6 separate regions of the Homo sapiens genome follow, and all the other regions are linked to region 5. Evidence: promoter capture Hi-C in 16 types of primary human blood cells and fetal thymus (Javierre and others, 2016). All regions are on one chromosome and are shown on one strand. Each heading gives the region's core, a stretch centred on a gene start or on the middle of the fragment in contact. The rest is flanking DNA. Distances are from core to core; before and after follow the strand shown.

Region 1 (3,686 bases), core at 1,178-3,677, 180 kb after region 5:
CTACAGCTTAGTTGAATGCCCTTTTACTCATGGTATCTCAGGAGGCTATAGTCTTCCTATAGTTAGGGTCAGTTGAAGCTGCAGTCATCACAAGGTTTGACTGGCAGAGAATCTGTTCCAAGCTTAATCACTTGGCTCTTGGTGAGCCATAGGTTGCCTATAGCTGTTGGCTGGATACCTCAGTTTCTTGCCACCTGTGTCTCACCTTAAAGCAGCTCACAACATGGCAGCTGACTTCCCTTAAAGTGACTAAGAGAGGGTACCACAACAGAAGCCAGTCTTTTTGTAACCTAATCTCAGAAGTGACATGCCATCCCTTTTGCCATATTCTATATTTGTTAGAAGTAAACACACAATAGGAGGGAATTACACAAGGTGGATGGCGTAATTGAAGGCTGTCTTAAAGGCTGCCTATCACAGTGCAATTAGTATGGCATTAGTATGAGAATTCCAGTGATGCAAAAGTGAAAAATTCGACAAAAACAAGTACAGGAAGCAAGTTGAGGTTGGTTGGTTGGTTGGTTGGTTGGTTTTACAACTTTTAATGCATAGAGGGTAAATTGGCCAAAAAAAATTAGTCAAGAACAGAAATATGTAGCTTGTCAGCAGTTAGTTGGAAAGGGGTAATAAGCAATGAATTTGAATAATTTACTAAGAGATAATATTACTGTAATGTGTGTGTTCATGGGATCAGTTCATCTCTTCCTATGTATTTCTCATTTCTGTGTTGGTTCTGACGCAGGAGTTTTTTCCTGTTTGAGTGAGATCCACTAATGGAGGATTGTTATTTGATGCTTAGGACTTGGGATTGAGCAGAAAACACTACTGTTGGCTTGTAAGATCATAATCGGTGTTTTGAATATGGAATATACTACCTTCTTAAATTTAGTTTTACATGTGTGAGTGAGGCGGTTTCCCCTGTGCAGTTTTTCCTTGCACTTCTCCTTCCTGAACCAATCTTAATGAGGAATGTGTGTGACATGTACCAAAAACTTCAAAACTTTAAGATAGAGAAAATATTTTGAAGATGCCTATTCATAAATTATTTATTGGTTTAATTTATTTTCAATAAAAATTTCAGTGAGATGTTAGGTAGGCGCAATATTTCTGAAATTTATCTAAAAAATAAGAAAGTCAAAGAAAATTCTGAAAACTATGTTTTTGTTTTTGTGTTTTTTTTTTGAGATGAAGTCTCACTCTGTCACCCAGGCTGGAGTGCAGTGGTGCGATCTTGGCTCACTGCAAGCTCCGCCTCCCGGGTTCACGCCATTCTCCTGCCTCAGCCTCCCAAGTAGCTGGACTACAGGCACCCGCCACCACACCCAGCTAATTTTTTTTGTATTTTTAGTAGAGATGGGGTTTCACCGTGTTAGCCAGGATGGTCTCGATCTCCTGACCTCGTGATCCGCCCACCTTGGCCTCCCAAAGTGCTGGGATTACAGGCGTGAGCCACTGCACCTGACCCTGAAAAGTATATTAATGGGGAAGGAAAAACAGACATGCCTTACTACATATTAAAATGTCATTTCAAGCAGTAGTAGCTAAAACATCAATACATCATGATAAATCAGTGGATGAGAACAACCCGAAAATAAAACCCTACCATTTCTGCGAATGAAGTATATAATCATTATCTAATATAGCTAATATGTAATATGTAGTATATAACATGTAATGAATATACATAAGATGTGTAAAGGAATTCTGCATTTTTAGACCTCCCACAACAATTTTAAATAGTGACAGTGATACGAATAATATTATGATTATTTTGGGACTCTTTTAACATTAATTTTAACAAGAATGTATTTTGTGTTAAGTATAATCTTGGTTGCTGGGGTTACATAATTTATCATCCTGTTAAAATCATTTTGTTGTCTCTATTAGTCTTTTCATTAAGAGTGATATGTCCTTTTTTCTATCAAACTACTAATGTCTTTTAGAAATTATTTCTGCTACCAGGACAGATTTTGTTTTACTTATTGCTTAAGATTGTTAACTTGCAAAACGAAGTGAAGTGAAAATTTAATCAACTGTGTAGACTGTCCTAACTACCTTAATCAAGTAAAAGAATTTACTTGACTTTGTTGCAATCTGAGCTTTTATTTTGTCAAAGTCTAGTTATCTTATTAAGTCTTCAGTAGAAGATATAATTAATACTTGGTGATTTCTAAATCTGAATATTGGAGAAAAGGGCACCAAATTGAAGAATGCTAGATTTTAAATATTTTCTAGAACTTTAATCTATATGTTCCTCAAGGGGAATTATTGTTAAGCACTGTCTTGATGTGGGAAAATAGATCCACAAGAAACAGGAGTTTCTTCTTCCCAGCCCCTAAAGATACACTACATTGTAACTTTAGACTTGACTGAATTTTTCAATGTAGTGCTGTCTTTGCATAGGTGTATGTCTTTGCACAGATGGTGACTAGTAGAATGTGGATTCCGCTTCTCATCCCATCATACTTGTTTAGTTTTTCCGGGTGAATATATAGCCAAGTTTTAAAAGCAATGCTCTGAGATTCTTACTCCACATCTTGTTAAATGGCGATTGTGAACCAGTAGATCTGGAGTAGGGTTTGAGAGTCTGCATTTCTAACAAACCCAAAGGTGATGTTATGCTCTCAGCAAGGTTCTAGACTGCTAAATTTCCTATATAGACTTAGTTGTTGCGATGTCTTTATTCAAAAAGAACTGCTTTGTTCTTGGTCTTATAATTGTAAGATATTTTGTTAGGTGAGTCCCATATATTTTTTCTCACTTAATCTTCACAACACCCCTGCAAGACTGTAATACATGTTCATTATGGAAAATTCAGATAAGCAAAAAGAAGAAAAATAAAAGTTACGTAGATACCAGAAATTAAAATAATATTTATTTATAAGTTTAAGACTCCAAGTGAAGATTAAAGTTCTAAAAGGAACTAAAGTTATAGCTTCGGGAGTATTATATGCATTTTCCCACCTTAAGTAAAGAAAACAAAACATTGTGGGAGTAATATGACTGAAACTAAAATGTATTTACTTAGAAAAGACCAGAAGAAAATGTCAGAGCATACAGTAGTTGCATTAGGGTGACAGGATTATAACAGGCACTTTTTCCTTTTATCTGCAGTCCACAATATTTATAATGTGCATATGTTACCTTTACAATAAAAATTTAAAAACCTTAGTCTTCTCAGAAATGCCACTGAGGAAAAGGTCTGAAAGTTAATAATAACTAAACTAAATAAATACTTTACAATTTAAATGAAAATCATCAAGATGGACAAAGAATAATTCACACAAGTGAAAAATGGTAAATGAACAACTGAAAAGAATAAATCAAATACAGCTTTGGTAAAATAGTAAACAGCTTTACACAATAGTAAAAAAACATGCAGCTAAGCAGGTATCTATCTTTTCCAAAAGGAAGTATTTTAGAGCTAACAACCAATGCTGACAAGGCACAGCAAAACCAATATATTTGTTCATTTCTGGTAGTAGTATGCATCCTTTTGAAAGGTAATGTGATTAACACAAAGATTCATAAATATTTAATGGCAATAGAATACAAAAATACTATACACACTCCATCTGTCACTATGTAACATGTTTACATGCTGAAAGACAATCTTTTGGGGAAAAAACTCTTTTTTGAGGATAAAGAGATGAGATTACCGAGTGCTTTAGTGTTTGCTTAAACAT
Region 2 (3,622 bases), core at 5-2,504, 250 kb after region 5:
AGGACATTTTTCATAGAGTGAAAGTTGAGCTGTTATGAGCCATTTCAATTCTGTAAATTGTATGAATTTTCAGGGATAAAAACCCGGCTTCTGAAAGAGAGAAAAACTTCCAGAGTAACTATTTGTAGGTTAGATACATATCCCACAAGTGTTGTCAAGGTGAGAAGTTATTTAGATTGCCGGGGAAAGAGAACAGGGAGATAGGTGATTGATCTAGATAACTAGCTTTTTTTCTTCTGACTCTTGAGATTAGATAGATAAATAGTAGATGAACTTTAGATAGAAATGGAAAACTTTAAAACAAATAACCTCACTAATATATTATTCACCAAAAGCTTGAACTTCTGTCATGAAGTTGTTTTCTAACTAGTTTTGAAGGGTAAGTGCATTGTCAGTCTATCTTGATTTTTAGATTAATTATTAGAATTTGAAGTTTGTTCTAAAGTGTATATAATTTGCCACATAGAATTTAAATACAAAGGCATAATGGTATATTACAATTCAGACTTAGACAAATCTTGTTTTAAATCTTCAGGTTTGTTAACTACATAACCTTGGGCAAATTTCTTAACCTCTGTAGGCTTCATGTTCCATTTCTGAAAAATTTTAAAGATAATACTCAAGAATGTTGTAAAAATCAAGTGAATTGATATGTAAAGCACCTTTCACAACTCTGACACAAAATGTTAGACTAACATTTATAGTTAATTGCTCCCATATCATCTTTATCACACTAGAGTCAATAAATAAAGTTGTATGTTTATATATAACATTTAAAATACATTAACCTTGCTAACTGAAAGTCCAGATTTATGTATCATGGAAAAAGACTGAAAGCTTAATTGAAGGCAGTTCTAGGTTTAAGTTCTGTCTGTAAAAAAACTTTTATCTTGACCAATTTTTACAATTTCTTACAAGTTTTTAAATATTTTATAGTTTAGTGATAAGAAATGTATACATTATTCAGATGCAGTTATACTATTATTTCTGAAGCATATCAATGCACTTTTTCCTTCATGTCTGAAGGAGAATTTTTGTCTGAAGGCTTATTAACTAGGATAATTTTTCCATCTGATTATTTTTAACACTTTCCTGTTTCATATAACATTGGTTGATTTAATGGACTCTGGGCTCAATATATTTTATTGGGCCTTGAAATTTACTGAACTTATTTATTTTTCTAATAAAAAGAGGATTAGCAAGCTGAAGAGAGTATGTGAATGATGTTAAGGGAGAAAGAGAAGACCACATAAAAGTATAAATCAATATTTTACCACCAGTTTTTGAAGTAAGTAAAGGCTCTAGTAATTGTAAATTGACCACTTGCTTTTTGTTATCATCCCAGTAGTATTCATGTAAGATAGTCTCTAGGATTAAATTGTTATTTTTGTGTAATTTAACAAAAGCGTACTTATTCTTACTTTAATCAGGATATATCTGTTTTCCCAGATAGTCCATGAAAGAACAGAGATGGTCATACCCAAAATATTTGTGTTGTATCATCTTTAGAAGCAATGAACTTTTTACCCCTATAAAGCTAAATATGTATACTTTATAGGCACAAAAATATAGAAATAATACTGGTCTGAAAAATTGAATACTCATACTTAGATTCAAACCTAGATTTTAGATTAACTACTAGCAAGCTAAACAACTGTGTGGGACAAGTTTTTAAGCTTTCTTTTCATCTTTCGTAAATAAGTAGCTTGGATTATATAATTTCTTATTTTTTTCTAGTATTACTATATTGTCACTTATTAATATTTCTATCACATTGTAAGAAAATGTGAAACCACCACAACTGTTACTTCTATCGAATTATTTTTCTAGGCTCAAGACCACCTTTAATCCTACAATCTCAGTCTCTACCTTGTTCATCACCTCGAGATGTTCCACCAGATATCTTGCTAGATTCTCCAGAAAGAAAACAAAAGAAGCAGAAGAAAATGAAATTAGGCAAGGATGAAAAAGAGCAGAGTGAGAAAGCGGCAATGTATGATATAATTAGTTCTCCATCCAAGGACTCTACTAAACTTACATTAAGACTTTCTCGTGTAAGGTCTTCAGACATGGACCAGCAAGAGGATATGATTTCTGGTGTGGAAAATAGCAATGTTTCAGAAAATGATATTCCTTTTAATGTGCAGTACCCAGGACAGACTTCAAAAACACCCATTACTCCACAAGATATAAACCGCCCACTAAATGCTGCTCAATGTTTGTCGCAGCAAGAACAAACAGCATTCCTTCCAGCAAATCAAGTGCCTGTTTTACAACAGAACACTTCAGTTGCTGCAAAACAACCCCAGACTTCTGTGGTACAGAATCAACAACAGATATCACAACAGGGACCTATATATGATGAAGTGGAATTGGATGCATTGGCTGAAATTGAGCGAATAGAGAGAGAATCAGCTATTGAAAGGGAGCGCTTCTCAAAAGAAGTTCAAGATAAAGGTAAAATAATCTCATTATTACCACTTCATCATCTGGGCAAATATGTAATTATAGTGTCAAAAATTTTTTTCACATTACTTTTTTCCCGAATATTTTGTATAATTTATGTCTACTCAAGTACATATTTTTATTACTAATACTCATAATGCAGAAGTTAAATTCGTAACAATTTCATTTATTGTCTGAAACAACTATATGAGATTTGGTAATTCTCTACTACAGGTCTGTTACTCATTATGTACTATATGATTTTACTTATTTGTGCTTTTCTGCTAAAATGAACATTAGCATTTCTATATAACATGTATATTTCACAAGTTACATTAATATTGTTGTGCACCTTCAAATTTTTTTCTGCTAAAACAAGGTTAACCACTGTAGAATTATTTTGAACAGGTACACTTAAGAAAAGCTCATGTGTATGCTTATTAGGCAGTTAGATATTTCACTTGGTTTATGATCCTACTGGCTTAATAATGTCAAATTTTTTTAGTAAACAAATCATGGAAAGAGTTAATATTAAATAGCAAACCTTAGAAATTAAGAGTCTTTTGGTGGTAATTACAGTGAAGTGTTCCCTTTTGTCTGACTAGTATGTTAGGATGGAGTTTCAAGACATACCTGGTCTATGAGTTTATGAGCTTTCCTTGCGCTTCATAATCAAACAAAAATAAATTCATAGTAAGTTCTTAGTAATTTGGTATACACTGTATACAAAATTTCTTTCATGTTTTAAGAGACTGATGAATCAGTGATTCAAATTAGCAATATAATTGATGAATTTGATTGCTATATAAATGCATATACACATTTGATCAGACCAAAAGCATGCTTTATGATTTAATTTTATGATTAAAATATTTTAGGTTGATTTTCAGTTCTTATATTTTATTTCTTGGTAATGATAAAACTTCTTGATATTGGGTAGAGCTGATTTTTATATATGATGTGTTCAGTGTTTGACAGGATCATGACAAGATAATTGTGTTTCTATGCTAAGAAACATGCTGAAGATTAGTATTATATTTCCTGTCTGTCATGATGGCTCATTTTAATGTTATTGAAAAAAAATGGACTGTATTTAGTAATTGTTGTACTACAATGTTTGCAACATATGTAAATCAGAAATAGATGCAAATAAAGAGATTGCTAGAAGTCTTCATTT
Region 3 (2,500 bases), core at 1-2,500, 230 kb after region 5:
AGCTGCCTCTTCCATCTCCTTTACCTGCTACAACTACAAAGAGCCTTCTCTTTAATGCACGAATAGCAGAAGAGGTGAACTGCCTTTTGGCTTGTAGGGATGACAATTTGGTTTCACAGCTTGTCCATAGCCTCAACCAGGTATCAACAGATCACATGTAAGTATGATCAATTTTATATCTACTATAAGTGAAAAGTTTTGGCCTTACTAAGAGAATCCGTATTCCTGGTTTTATTTCAGAAATTTTTAGATACATAGTTTATTTTTTAAAAATATCCATATCCGAGGGAGAATATAGTCTTATTGCAATAATAGATTAATGAGATTTAAGTAGGCAATATTTATTTTTAGATAATAATTCTGACCCATGTAGCTCTATGGATATTTTTTCAGCTCTTTTGAACTTATCTTGGGGGATCCATCATTTGTGCAGAGATCTGGTCATGAAACTATATCCCTGTCTGGGCGCGGTGGCTTACACCTGTAATCCCAGCACTTTGGGAGGCCGAGGCAGGTGGATCACGAGATCAAGAGATTGAGACCATCCTGGCCAACATGGTGAAACCCCATCTCTACTAAAAATACAAAAAAAAAAAAAAAATTAGCCAGGCGTGGTGGCGGGCGCCTGTAGTCCCAGCTACTCGGGAGGCTGAGGCAGGAGAATCACTTGAACCCGGGAGGCAGAGGTTGCAGTGAGCCGAGATCACGCCACTGCACTCCAGCCTGGCAACAGAGTAAGACTCCGTCTGGGGAAAAAAAAAATTATTTTTCACTGCAAAACCAATACATATTTATACAAACAACACAAAAATGTGTAAAAAGTAAAATCTCTCATTCTTATCCCTTCATATTCCACCACACAATGTTACTCATGTAACCTCGCATTCTTTATTTTTTTAATTTAAAAATTCATCATGTAGGGGAATGAGGATAAACACATTATAATGGAGAGATATCTACATTAGATGCGGTACATATTTTTGGGGCATTTTTAAAGCTGATGACTCTAAGGTGAGATACTTACTAAATGGATTTTCTAATGGAGAAGCTAAGAAATGATTGGTTAAAATCAGAAAGAAGTATAATACTACTAATATTTTGTCACTCCAAAAATTCAGCAATATCTAAATCACTTCTTTTTTTTTTTTTTTTTTTTTTTTTTGAGATGGAGTCTTGCTCTGTTGCCCAGGCTGGAGTGCAGTGGTGCGATCTCGGCTCACTGCAACCTCCACCTCCTGGGTTCAAGTGATTGTTCTGTCTCAACCTCCTGAGTAGCTGGGATTACAGGCCCCCACCACCATGCCTGGCTAATTTTTGTATTTTTAGTAGAGACAGGTTTTCACCATATTGGCCAGGCTGGTCTCAAATTCCCGACTTCAGGTGATCCACCCACCTCGGCCTCCCAAAGTGCTAGGATTATAGGTGTGAGCCACTGTGCCCAGCCTCTAAATCACTTCTTATGCTTGTACATACTTATTCAGTAGTTTTCACCAAATATTTAAAGATGTAAAGGAAATAGCACACGTAAAATAAGGACTTATTTTATGGAGAGCTCCTGTAAGATTGCCCTGGAAATGTAGTGAGTCTTATCATTGGACACCATCTTTATAGGTCTTCATGGTTAGATCCAATGAGTAGAACATTGACATGTATAATATAAAGTTAAAACACTGCCTATACTTAATTTTATCATCATCTCCCATGGTTATGAATTTAATTTGCTACTTATATTGAAGTTTATTGAAAATTGCTGCTGTGAAGTGTATTGAAATTTGCTGTTTGGTTTCCGCTTTTCCCGCACCATGACATTATTTGAGAAAGCAATGTAAGATGGAAAAATTACATAACCTCTGGGTCTTGTCTTAATCAGTGTGGCAACAGTATCTTATTTGTAAGACATTCCCAGAAAGTCAGACTCACTCATATTCAGGTGTAAGAAAATATATTCCAATACCAAATATCAACTTTTTGTGTAACTTTCACTTGTCTACCCTTCCATTATTTTGAATAGTTTAGAATAGAATGTATTTCTTTTCTATTTTAGAACTACTTGGAAATTATTAAACTCATAGTTCAATAAAATAGTGTTTTGGGCTTTTTTTCTCTTGACTGTGTAAAGTAAAATGAAGAAAAAGATTGTCCTTAGAAGAATCCCTCTCTGTTATTTTTGATAATTATATTTCTCCCAGGGATAGCATATTTGAAAATTCATAACTGTTGGGTCAGCCACAGTGGCTCACACCTGTAATCCCAGCACTTTGGGAGGCCGAGGCGGGCAGACCATCTGAGGTCAGGAGTTAGAGACCAGCCTGGCCAACATGGTGAAACCCTGTCTCTACTAAAAATACAAAAATTAGCTGGGCGTGGTGGCAGGCACCTGTAATCCCAGCTACTCGGGAGGCTGAGGCAAGAGAATCACTTGAACCTGGGAGACGGAGGTTGCAGTGAGCTGAGATTGTACCATTGCACTCCAGCCTGGGGGACAAGAGTGAGACTTCGT
Region 4 (3,527 bases), core at 798-3,297, 160 kb after region 5:
TATGCCCTGCAGGTAGAGCAGCTCAACAGAATCCTGCTGCACCTGGAGTCAGAGCTGGCACAGACCCAGGCAGAGGGGCAGCACCAGGCCCAGGAGTACGAGACCATGCTGAACATCAAGGTCAAGCTGGAGGCTGAGAGCGCCACCTGCCACCGCCTGCTTGAAGATGGCAAGAACTTCAGTCTTGATGATGCCCTGGACAGCAGCAACTCCATGCAAACTATCCAAAAGACCACCACCCGCTGGATAGTGGATGGCAGAGTGGTGTCTGAGACCAGTGACACCAAAGTTCTGAGACATTAAGTCAGCAGAAGCAGGGTACCCTTTGGGGAGCAGGAGGCCCATAAAATGTTCAGAGGTCATTGGGGGAAAATAGGCTATTCAGTTAAAATAGTTATCTGATGACTGAAATTTTTTTAATATGTCAGGTGTATTGAGGTATAATTTATACAGTAAAACTCAGTCTTTTGGGTGTGCAGTTTGATGAGTTTTGACAAACATACACAGTCTTAAAACCACCACCACAATCAGAATATTTCCATTACCCCCAAAAGTTCCCATGTATCCCTTTGTAATCAGTTTCCTGCTCCTACTGCAGCCCGAGGCAACTAGATCTGGTTTCTGTCTCTATAGTTTTTCCTTTTCTAGAACATAAAAATGGAATCATATATAGCCTTTTATGTCTTTTTTTTAAATTTAGCAGAAAGCTTCTGAGATTCATTCATGTTCTATGTATCAGTAGTTTGTCAATGACTGAAGTTTAAAATTGTTAACTTTGGTGAAGCTCTTACGAAAGAGTATTATCAAAAAATAGTACTTTGAACAGTGGTAGATATTTCTCTCAGATTTTGGCAGCTGCCTTATTATTGAACATTTTACTTGCTCATTTTTACCCCTCGACCCCCAAATTTTACTTACCTGTTTAACCCTCAACCCCCAAATCTAGTCTAATAGACATTATTATATGGCATTTATTTATATTAGTAAATGCTGTTTAATTCTCTACCAAGCATGTGAAATAGACCTACTCTCTTTTTCATAATTAAAATAGGTAGCATCTTGCATTTTGAACATACAGCACATAGAAACTAGAATAAAAAATGAAGGATGGTGCAGTAACACCAAAAACTTGAGTTTACATTTGCTTTAGGTTTAGTGTTTGTAAGTTGGTGCTAAAAAAAGAGCATAGATTATAGTGAATAACAGTCACAGCCTCTCTTCCAATGATTAAAGTTAGAAAAGCAGTGCCCTTTACTGAAAATTGGGGGCAGATAATGAGAAAAGAGTAATTTTCTGGACATTTTATTCGACCACCTCTCCCCCGACCCTTTCCTTTTTGAAACAGCTTCATCTCTGGGATATTCTCTTGTTGTTTGCTTATGTCTTTGACCTCCCATTTTTTAAGTCTTTTGCTAGGTCTTGCTCCTCTACCTACCCCTTTAAATATTTGTATTCTCCAGGAGGTGCTTCAAACTTATTTCTGTTCTTCCTGTTGATCTCATTTATTCACATGACTTGTTACATGCTACCTGTGTGCTGATGACTCACAAATCTATCTCCAGAATATATTTCTCTTCTGAGCCAGATCCAGCTGTCTATCAGGTACCTCCTGATGTCCCATGAATAACAGAAATTCCATAGTATGTAAGTCTGAACTCATCCCTTAATTCTTCCTTACTCTGACCTGTCACCCAAAGAAAGAAAACTATTAAAAAATACATGAAGTAGGTTAATGTTTTCACTATCAACTCATTTACCTAAACTAGAAATTTGGGATAATCCTTGACACTTCTTTACCATACTTCCAGTTCAGTTATTCACCCAGTTCTGACATTTGTAACACTTCCCTGAATTATCACTTGAATCTACCCCTTCCCCAATGTTTTGATTCTGTGAGAGGTCCTGAACATACAGTTTTCTCAGATTTAATAACTTCTAGTATTTTAAGAAAGATTTAGCAGTAATTGTGAAAGTAATATGTATTTAGTATTGGATACTTTTTGCTTCTATGCTTGGGCTCTGGTATTTAAAATTAAGGTGTAATCTTTAGTAACAGTGATACTATATAGCCTAAATGTGACTGTGTTCTGTTATATCTAAAATTTAGGACTTTTGACTTACAGCCCAGTTTATCAGCTGGAAGACTTGAACTCATTTTTTAACTCATTTTTTATCTTTTCATTCTTGCTTTTAGAATACTGCATTTCATGGAGTTGTATATTCATTTCAATACTTTGTGTTTATGTGTTTTGGAGCAGGGTAGAGGAGAAAATGGGAATGTATAAGGAAAGTTAAAGGAAGGACTTTTGAATTGACTTTCCTATACTGTGGAAACAAGTTTACTTAAATAACATTTTCACTTTTATTGCAAACAACAGAAAACTAAAGAAATGCTGTGGGATATGATACCATTCAGGTGCTAAGCATGCACATATTTTTAATGACAGGAGTTAGATGTGTTGTAACAGTATTGCTTGTTTGTGAGTTTGGAAATTAATGTTCATGGTTTTGTATAACTTTATGATATTTCTTCCTTAAAATAAGAAATTACCCCTCCAGCCCACAGTTTGAGCCAAAGGGTCTGCTTGAAATTATTAGTTTAAATAATCCTGAGCGCATCTTTTGTAAAGGGCATTTTAAAATGTAATGCTGCCTTGAAAAACAAAGCAAGCATTTTCTTCGTTATATCTAGAGTTTATAACTAAAGAAGTAATATGTGCTATATTTTGCTCTAGTGCCAAGTACCATATTTTGGAATGAATAGAATCAATCTAAAGGCAGTTTACAAAGGCTGAAGGGAGACCCAGTTTGGTAGTCATTGGATCCCTTTGGTGGCTTGCACATAGTAAGCACTCAACAAACAATTGTTGAATAAATGAATTTGAATATATTTTCAGTTTGGGGACATAGGACTAATTAGAGTGACAGAAGATGGGTGGGGCTTGCTAAATACTGAGCAAGTTTTATAGAGGAAAGAAAACATGAAACCCAGAAATGGTGGACAACATTGACAGCAAAGAATTGGTGTAATTTAGTTAACTATTTTTATCTGGACAATAAGGTTTGTTTAGTTGGATAAGAGAAAGATCTATATACAGAAGTGTTTTGAGTTCTTTCTACTCTTATTTCCACTCTGGCTCTACTTCTGAACCCCCATGTTCACTGCTAAAGAACTAATTGTAGGCTTGGGGCTAAAATGATCTGCATAATCCAGATACTCATATTAAGAACTGGGAGGAGGTGTTGGGAAAGAGGTATTTCTTACAGTTCTTCAATCTTTCCAATTACTCATGTTTCTTAGTATATGTCAGGGTGCCACTGCACTGTCCTCCGTATTCATATGAGGATGTCTAAAAACTAGAATTTAAAATCACATATAATTTACAATAAGCTTGTAACTGTCCTAGTATGAAGTTCAGTATCTGAATCTCTAATAATTAGTTACCTAGCTGTTGAGCCACATTGCCATCTACTCTGATTATCATATGTTTCTTATGATTCTGATATTTTAAACTGGAAGATAAACA
Region 5 (3,466 bases), core at 782-3,281:
CCTGAGCCAGGATTATTTTAACTGGTAGCATTAGCTGGGTCAGACCGATCAGCCTCTATGGGGAATACTTTGGGAACTGTCATCTTCCAAGCCAGCGCAAGAACAGCCTCTGCCACTGAACTGATGGTGATACACACGGTATTTGGAGGGCAAATCTGATTCACATGCAGTAGCAGGAGATGGAAGAGTGGTTAAAATGAAAGGGAGAGGAGAAGAAGAGCAAGGGACGAGCATAATACAGGGAAAGAAGAATAATACAGGTAGAATAGGAATTACATAGAAGGGAGAAGATCATTTTTTAAAAAAAATAAGGGCCAGGCATGGCAGCCTATAATGGTAGGCAGCACTTTGGGAGGCCATGGCTGGAGGACAGCTTGAGGTCAGGAGTTTGAAATCAGCCTGGGCAACATAGCAAGACCCCCATCTTGACAAAAAATACAAAAGTTAGCCAGATGTGGTGGAACACACCTGTAGTCTCAGCTACTCAGGAGGCCGAGGCAGGAGGATCACTTGAGTCCAAGGGTTTGAGGCTGCAGTGAGCTATGATCATGCCACTGCACTCCAACCTGGGTGACAGAGACCTTGTCTCTAAAAAGTAAAGAAATGAAATAGAAAATAAAAACGAATGGTAGAAATAAAAGGAACTGAGTAGTAGGGGGCAGAGGCATGTCTAGGGGAGAGAACTAGAACTGCCAAGGGATTTGAGTGCCTGATGGATTCTGAAGACTGAAATATACATGACCCCAAAAAGCAATGTCATTTGTAAATATTTGTTAATGAGTTTAGTGAAGTGCTACATGGAGGAATGATCTAGCCAATGAGAACAATGTGCACCAGCCAGTTGGATTCTTGAAGCTGCAGAGACTTCATCTTCAGCCACAGCAGGTGGCTGAGGGCTAGAGTTACTTGGGACTTTCCCCAATGCTCTAGTTCCTTCTATCTCTTGGAAACAAGTCTGGCTCAATATGTTCAGCAGCCCCATTGATGTTGCCCAGAGGAAGTGTGGATCAGGGCTCGCTGACCCCAAGGTTAGCAGCAGAAGAGCAGGGCCTCTGCCTCCCCAGCCAGGAAGCCCACAGTCTTGGCCACATGAATGAAGGAGGTCTTGGCAGCATCTGACACACCTCGGGGTAATGATTTAGCCACCCCAAATTACCGTGTCTCCACAAAATAGTCACTTGGGGCCACACTACATTGTGGAGAGATAATGAAAGAGCTTCTATTTTTGAGCTATCTTTTCCTCATATGCGAATAATTTCACACACAAAAAAATGAGAAAACCACTTCTCTCTGTCACCTACAGAATCAGGAACAGGGATCAGATTATCTTTTAGATACCCGCCCCAAAAAGAAATAAAAATCAAGAAAACATGGGTAAATACCATGGTGGACATTTAAATGAAGCTGAGAAAGAAAGCTTTCTCTATTTAGAGAAGAATTCAAAATGGATGGCAGGAGATTTGTTGAAAATAAGGAAGAGGGAGGGAAAGGTTAGTAAATAATAGGTCAAATCTTCAGCCTAGAGGGCACTACTAAGTTTTCTTTTGTTCCCCCTTAGGTTTCCTGGTGTAGCAGTGCAGTTGCAACGTAGTTTTGTTTTTTGGGTTTCTTTAAACCTAGAGTGGTAAGAGGGACTTGGTGGCGATGGACTGCCATGGGTCGGTTCCTTAGAGGGCTCTTGAGTTTTTCCCACCTGTCTCCAACTCCAGGGCCACCACTCTAATAAAGCCACTGCCATCTCTGACCAGCTCCCCTGCTGTGGCTTTCACTCTTGCTCTCTTTACAGCCCATTCCACACAGCAGCAGCCAGCATGGCACTTCCCGTTCTGGGCCCCTCCCACTGACTGCACCCTGTGCTTGTCCTTCATAGTGTGTAAAGATCTGTATGTGGGGTGATTTGACTAACGGTTCTCTCCCCTTAAGTATAAGTAAACCTATGAGGGCAAGGACTGCTTACCTTAGCATCCTTGGTTCCTGGTAGGATGCCCATCCCATAACAGGCTGGAGCTCCTGGGTGTGTGGGAGGGAGTAGGAAGGAAGCAACAGCTGCCAATCAAAGGCCCATTTGGGCATGTGACCCTTAGCTAGCCAATCAGAATCCTTTCCAGGGTTGTAGCAGTTGAAGCTGTGAGCAGCTCAGTTGGTTGGGTTGTCTGTCTTGTCTTGGCTTGGATTCTCCCAGAAGGAGATCCTGAGTCAATGATTCGGGTGCAAGTAGATTTCTTCTGGGAGCCTTTCTTTAATAAAGCACTTGCACCTGAGTCATTGACTCAGGATCTATTTCAGGATCTCCTTCTTGAGGGAGAGGGCGAAACAGGATCCAGAAGAAGCAAAGCAATGGAGCAGGCATGGCATCAGGAAGAGGACAGGGAGGCTGCCGTAAGCCCAGCAGGCTCCCTTTCAGGCTGTTAAGGAGGGGGATGAGTACGAACATGAAGGTGGCCCAAGTAGCTCTAAGGTCCCTTCTCTCATCTCCTGTCCTTACCGGGGGCCGTAGGCTCTAGATAAAACGCTGCCCCACCACCCGCCAGGGCTTTTGTTTTGGCTCACCTTTCATCCGCCTTCTCAGACTCTGTCTGCCTTGGCTTCCCTCAGCTGAACCCAGGGAATTTGCATTTTGCTATTTTCCATCTGCACTGGGTAGCCTGGCTCCAGATGTTTGGGGCAGCAAATGCAGAAATTCCAGGCAAACGGATCTGATCATTCTCTGCTTGGCTCCACTCGCTGCATCCCAAGCACCAGATGCCTCACTGGTGTCTGCCTACCTTCCTGGGAGGCAGATCCACCGCTCATAAGATAGAGCCCAACGACAAGACCCTGTACTTATGGAGGCCTTTTATTTAACAACTCATTTCATTGAAGGAAAAATCTAGAATCTACTAAGACCTCCTGATATTTTTTAATTAACTAGAAATTGTGGATGTATCCCTCAATATTTTCATCTAAAGTGGTTGAAATGATAATGGAGGGGAAACTGTGTTTTAAAAGCGTGTTACTCCATTTCTTTCATTCACCTCCATCAATGATAATATGAGTTATCACTCTTAATATTAACCACGTGGCAGGCTTCATGCATTCTCACATACATTTCACCCTAAGGCCTGGAGAAGATAATTTCACCAAAGTCACACAGGTAGTACATGGAAAGGTGTAAATTTGAACCTGGATCTTACTGCAAACCCATACTCTTAACTGCTTCATTCAACTTTTGCCAGCAATCATTTGTCATAGACTAAATGCCAGAACCTAAGCCCAAGATTTTGCAGTATACAGAGGAGAAACTGGATGTCTTTTGAAATGCTTCAGAATGGTTTCTATAGTACATATCTGAGCAGCACTCCATGACCAAAGGATGCCAAATCCTTTGCCCCTTGTATTACACTTCATTCATTAGTTCATTCATTCATTCAACAAATGCTTATAAAGCACTCCTGTAAGGCATTATTCTAGGCACTGAGTGTTTGTT
Region 6 (3,417 bases), core at 670-3,169, 140 kb after region 5:
ATGTATCAGTACTTCATTCTTTTATATACCATAATATACCATTATATGGATACCATATTTTACTTTTGCATGTGTCAGTTGATGGACATTTGGGTTGTTTCCACCTTTTGGTGATTCTGAATAATGCTTCTGTAAACAAATGTGTACAAGTTTCTGTGTGGACATATGGTTTCATTTCTCTTGGGTATATACCTAGTAGTAGAATTGCTGGGTCATATAGTAACTAGATGTTTAATCACTTGAGGAACTGCCAGACTGTTTTCCAAAGTGGCTGCACCATTTTACACTCCTATCAGAATGTATAAGGTTTGCAGTTTTCCTCTATATCTTTGCCAATAATTGTTGTTATCTGACTTTTTTATTCTGGCTATCATAGTGAGAATGAAGCCTTGTAAGTGAAGAAGAATGAAAACCTTGCAGTTTCTTTATTTGCTTTTCTCTGGTGATGTCAAGCATCTTTTCATGTACTTATTGGCCATTTGCATTTCTTCTTTGGAGAAATGTCTATTTAGATTCATTGCCCATTTTAAGTGGGGTTATTTTTTATTAAGAGTTCGTTACATATTATAGACATAGATCCCTTATCAGATACATGATTTGCAAATATCTTTCCTATTCTGTGGATTTTTTCACTTTCTTGATGGTGTCTTTTGAACCACTAAAGTTTTCAATTTTGATGAAGTCCAGTTTATGGTGTTTTTGTTTGCTTGCTTCTGGAGGCTTGTGTTTTTGTTGTCATAGCTAAGAATCCTGTCAAATCCAAGGTTATACAAATTTATCCTTCTGTTTTTTTCTGAGAATTTTATAGGTTTTCTCTTACATTTAGGTCATTGATCCATTTTGAGCTAATTTTTGCAAAATGGTGTGAGGTAAGGGTCCCAGTCTTTTGCATGTGAGGTAAGGGTCCTAGTCTTTTGCAGTTGTCTCAGCACCATTCGTTGAACAATAGCCTTTGGTTCTTGAACAAAGTTTGATCCGTTATATACCAGTATTCTCGCTGACTTCGAAATTACTTGAAGGCTAGTACTTGGCCCATAATTTTACACCTTTGTATAAATAAACCTCATTAAACTAATGTGACACTACTTTGTAATACTGTAAAACTAAATACTTTTTTTCTGGTTGTTGAGACAGGCTCTCACTCTGTCACCCAGGCTGGAGTGCAGTGGTGCCATCATGACTCACTGCAGCCTCTACCTCCTGGGCTCAAGCGATCCTCCCCCTTCAGCCTCTCAAGTAGCTGGGATGACAGGTCGACACCACCACACCTGGCCAATAAAAAAAAAATTGTTTTTAGAGATGGGGGTCTCACTATGTTGCCCAGTCTGGTCTTGAACTGCCAGACTCAAGCAATCCTCCCACCTCAGCCTCCCAAACTGCTGGGATTACAGGCATGAGCCACTGTCCTCAGCCAAAAACTAAATACTTTTGAATAGCTAATAGGTTATAATTCTACTATTGTTATAATTTAAAATGTATGTGGCCCACATACATATGGATTTCTGATAGTTGTGATTCACTACTGGAAAACATGTAAACCTCTGAAATATGGCATAATCTTCACTTCCACCCTGTCATGCTAGTTTTTGTCTTACCACTAGGTGACATGAACAATCAAGACTATATTTACCCTTGATTTAAAGGAACCAAAATGTGTGGGGATGGTGGGAACCAATGGTGAGTGGATAGATATTATGAGAAGGTTGGTAGTCAGATAAACGTGTTATGGAGGAGTGATGAAAGTGAAGCAGCAAGAATGGTCAGCAAGCGTGGGTTGCATTGGAGTTGCACCTTGGGGTGAGAACAGACAAACTACTTGGAAAGTTTGCTGTAAGCTTTCTAGATGTGGGATGAAAGTATTATTAAGTTGAAAGTATTATTGTTAAGGAGATTTGCTGCTAAAAAATAAATTATTAAATCATTTGACTGGTTACATTAACTTTCTCATTGATTCACCTTTCTCCACCCTCTCTTACATTCCATCCTTCCTTCATTCAGTTGCCCAAGCTTCTGTTTTCATTGAAATTACAAAAGCAATATATAGCCACCTCAAGAGTTCAGATGTGAAAGTTTTATGTCAATGAATATGAACATTTTTACAGCTCAATACATATTTCTAAATTGTATGAAATTTCCAAGTTCACCACACCTTATCCCTTTTGTGGGGTAATGTTATAGGTACTTCTTTTTATTGTTAATTGTAGAGTTATTCTAAAATGCAAATTTTATCATGATGTTATCCTGTAAGTAAAGTTCTTTCATATTTATTTGTTGAGTGTGGGGTAATATCTGCCTCCCAGGTTCAAGCAATTCTTGTTCCTCAGCCTCCCAAGTAGCTGGGATTACAGGCATGCACCACCACACCTGGCTAATTATTGTATTGTTAGTAGAGATGGGGTTTCACCTTGTAGCCCGGTCTCAAACTCGTGACCTCAAGTGATCCGCCCACCTCAGCCTCCCAACGTGCTGAAATTATAGGCATGAGCCACCACGCCCCACCTAAGAATGTTATCTGTCAATTTGGATATGCTAATTCAAAATCTTTAAGAAGCTCATATTCTGATATTCTTAGAATACAGTAATATTCCAAAAAAATAGGGAATTAGAGACTTACTTATATTCAGAGGCATACTAAATTCTTATTAGTGAATGTAATAGCTACACTGTAGTCAGAATAGTTTTCAAACCAGTTTTATGGTAAGCATCTCCTAAAGAGCCAGATTTCACAACTATGATGTTTTACAGCAATATTGTATACAGAATGAAAATCCAAAAGATTTAATGTAAACACAAAATTAAACTTAAGCATGATCATTTCTAAGCTCCTAGCCAAAATGGACATTCAAAAGTTTTTACAGAAATTCTGAAAGATGTGCAATATGTTCTTTAAATTAAAAATACTTTTCCATCTATATTGTCAAATACTACTATAGCTCTTCTAAATTCATAATGTAAGCTATTTTCCCATACATCAAGCAAAAGTTACATCATTTGGCTAGATATGATTATAAGGAATCATCTGACTGTATTGGAGAAAGCTGATGAATGTCGATGTTAGAATTAGGAAGAAGGCAATGCCGAGTGTTAATTGTGCAGTTCTTGTAGAGTTAATTGTAGGTGCTTTAGAAGCAGTACAGAATTCAACAGTGTAAGATGGAAAGAAGCTGATAAATCAGAAACATTACTATTAAATTTAGGTTTTGGTGCTGCTTTTTTAAAGAGAAAATAAAATATTTCAAATGTCTAGAGAAAAATGTTAAAAGCAGTATACATGTGTGGGTACAAATTCCTGACTAAACTTTTATATTTAAGTTTTTAGCAAAAGAGAAATTCTTTACTCAAACTTCCTGATTTTGTTCACTGGAAGCCACTTTTTTGATGCTTTTCCTAATCTGTCACCACTCCTTACTCTGGAAT

What was found. Contacts are between HindIII fragments. The CHiCAGO score rates a contact against its expected background, and 5 or more counts as called.
Region 1: a fragment that was not itself captured here is called in contact with the fragment with the promoter of SLC1A3-AS1 in region 5 in 4 of 17 cell types (naive B cells, total B cells, neutrophils and 1 more); the score reaches 8.0 in naive B cells.
Region 2: a fragment that was not itself captured here is called in contact with the fragment with the promoter of SLC1A3-AS1 in region 5 in 9 of 17 cell types (naive B cells, total B cells, megakaryocytes and 6 more); the score reaches 9.2 in naive B cells.
Region 3: a fragment that was not itself captured here is called in contact with the fragment with the promoter of SLC1A3-AS1 in region 5 in 12 of 17 cell types (naive B cells, total B cells, naive CD4 T cells and 9 more); the score reaches 13.8 in naive B cells.
Region 4: a contact is called between a fragment that was not itself captured here and the fragment with the promoter of SLC1A3-AS1 in region 5, in 5 of 17 cell types (total B cells, naive B cells, monocytes and 2 more). The highest score is 10.7, in total B cells.
Region 6: a fragment that was not itself captured here is called in contact with the fragment with the promoter of SLC1A3-AS1 in region 5 in 16 of 17 cell types (naive B cells, total B cells, megakaryocytes and 13 more); the score reaches 23.1 in naive B cells.

Annotation. Positions count from the first base shown.
Region 1 is chr5:36,904,580-36,908,265 of GRCh38, forward strand. The region is part of intron 1 of NIPBL (NIPBL cohesin loading factor); the gene reads left to right. Among named protein-coding and RNA genes, the nearest start is that of NIPBL, 30 kb to the left of the region's middle. The HindIII fragment of the contact is 4,614 bases long and covers 121-3,686 here.
Region 2 is chr5:36,973,946-36,977,567 of GRCh38, forward strand. It overlaps NIPBL (NIPBL cohesin loading factor), which reads left to right. Exons shown (of 47, transcript NM_133433.4): 9 at 1,831-2,457. Among named protein-coding and RNA genes, the nearest start is that of NIPBL, 99 kb to the left of the region's middle. The HindIII fragment of the contact is 839 bases long and covers 836-1,674 here.
Region 3 is chr5:36,955,481-36,957,980 of GRCh38, forward strand. It overlaps NIPBL (NIPBL cohesin loading factor), which reads left to right. Exons shown (of 47, transcript NM_133433.4): 3 at 1-157. Among named protein-coding and RNA genes, the nearest start is that of NIPBL, 80 kb to the left of the region's middle. The HindIII fragment of the contact is 3,389 bases long and covers 1-2,500 here.
Region 4 is chr5:36,886,195-36,889,721 of GRCh38, forward strand. All of the region lies in intron 1 of NIPBL (NIPBL cohesin loading factor), which reads left to right. It also overlaps the pseudogene KRT18P31. Among named protein-coding and RNA genes, the nearest start is that of NIPBL, 11 kb to the left of the region's middle. The HindIII fragment of the contact is 2,684 bases long and covers 706-3,389 here.
Region 5 is chr5:36,723,157-36,726,622 of GRCh38, forward strand. It overlaps SLC1A3-AS1 (SLC1A3 antisense RNA 1), which reads right to left and starts at 2,032. Exons shown (of 2, transcript XR_007058736.1): 1 at 1,958-2,032. RefSeq lists enhancers at 610-659, 670-719, 760-1,029. The HindIII fragment of the contact is 5,384 bases long and covers 1,416-3,466 here.
Region 6 is chr5:36,864,759-36,868,175 of GRCh38, forward strand. No RefSeq gene overlaps it. Among named protein-coding and RNA genes, the nearest start is that of NIPBL-DT, 10 kb to the right of the region's middle. The HindIII fragment of the contact is 172 bases long and covers 1,834-2,005 here.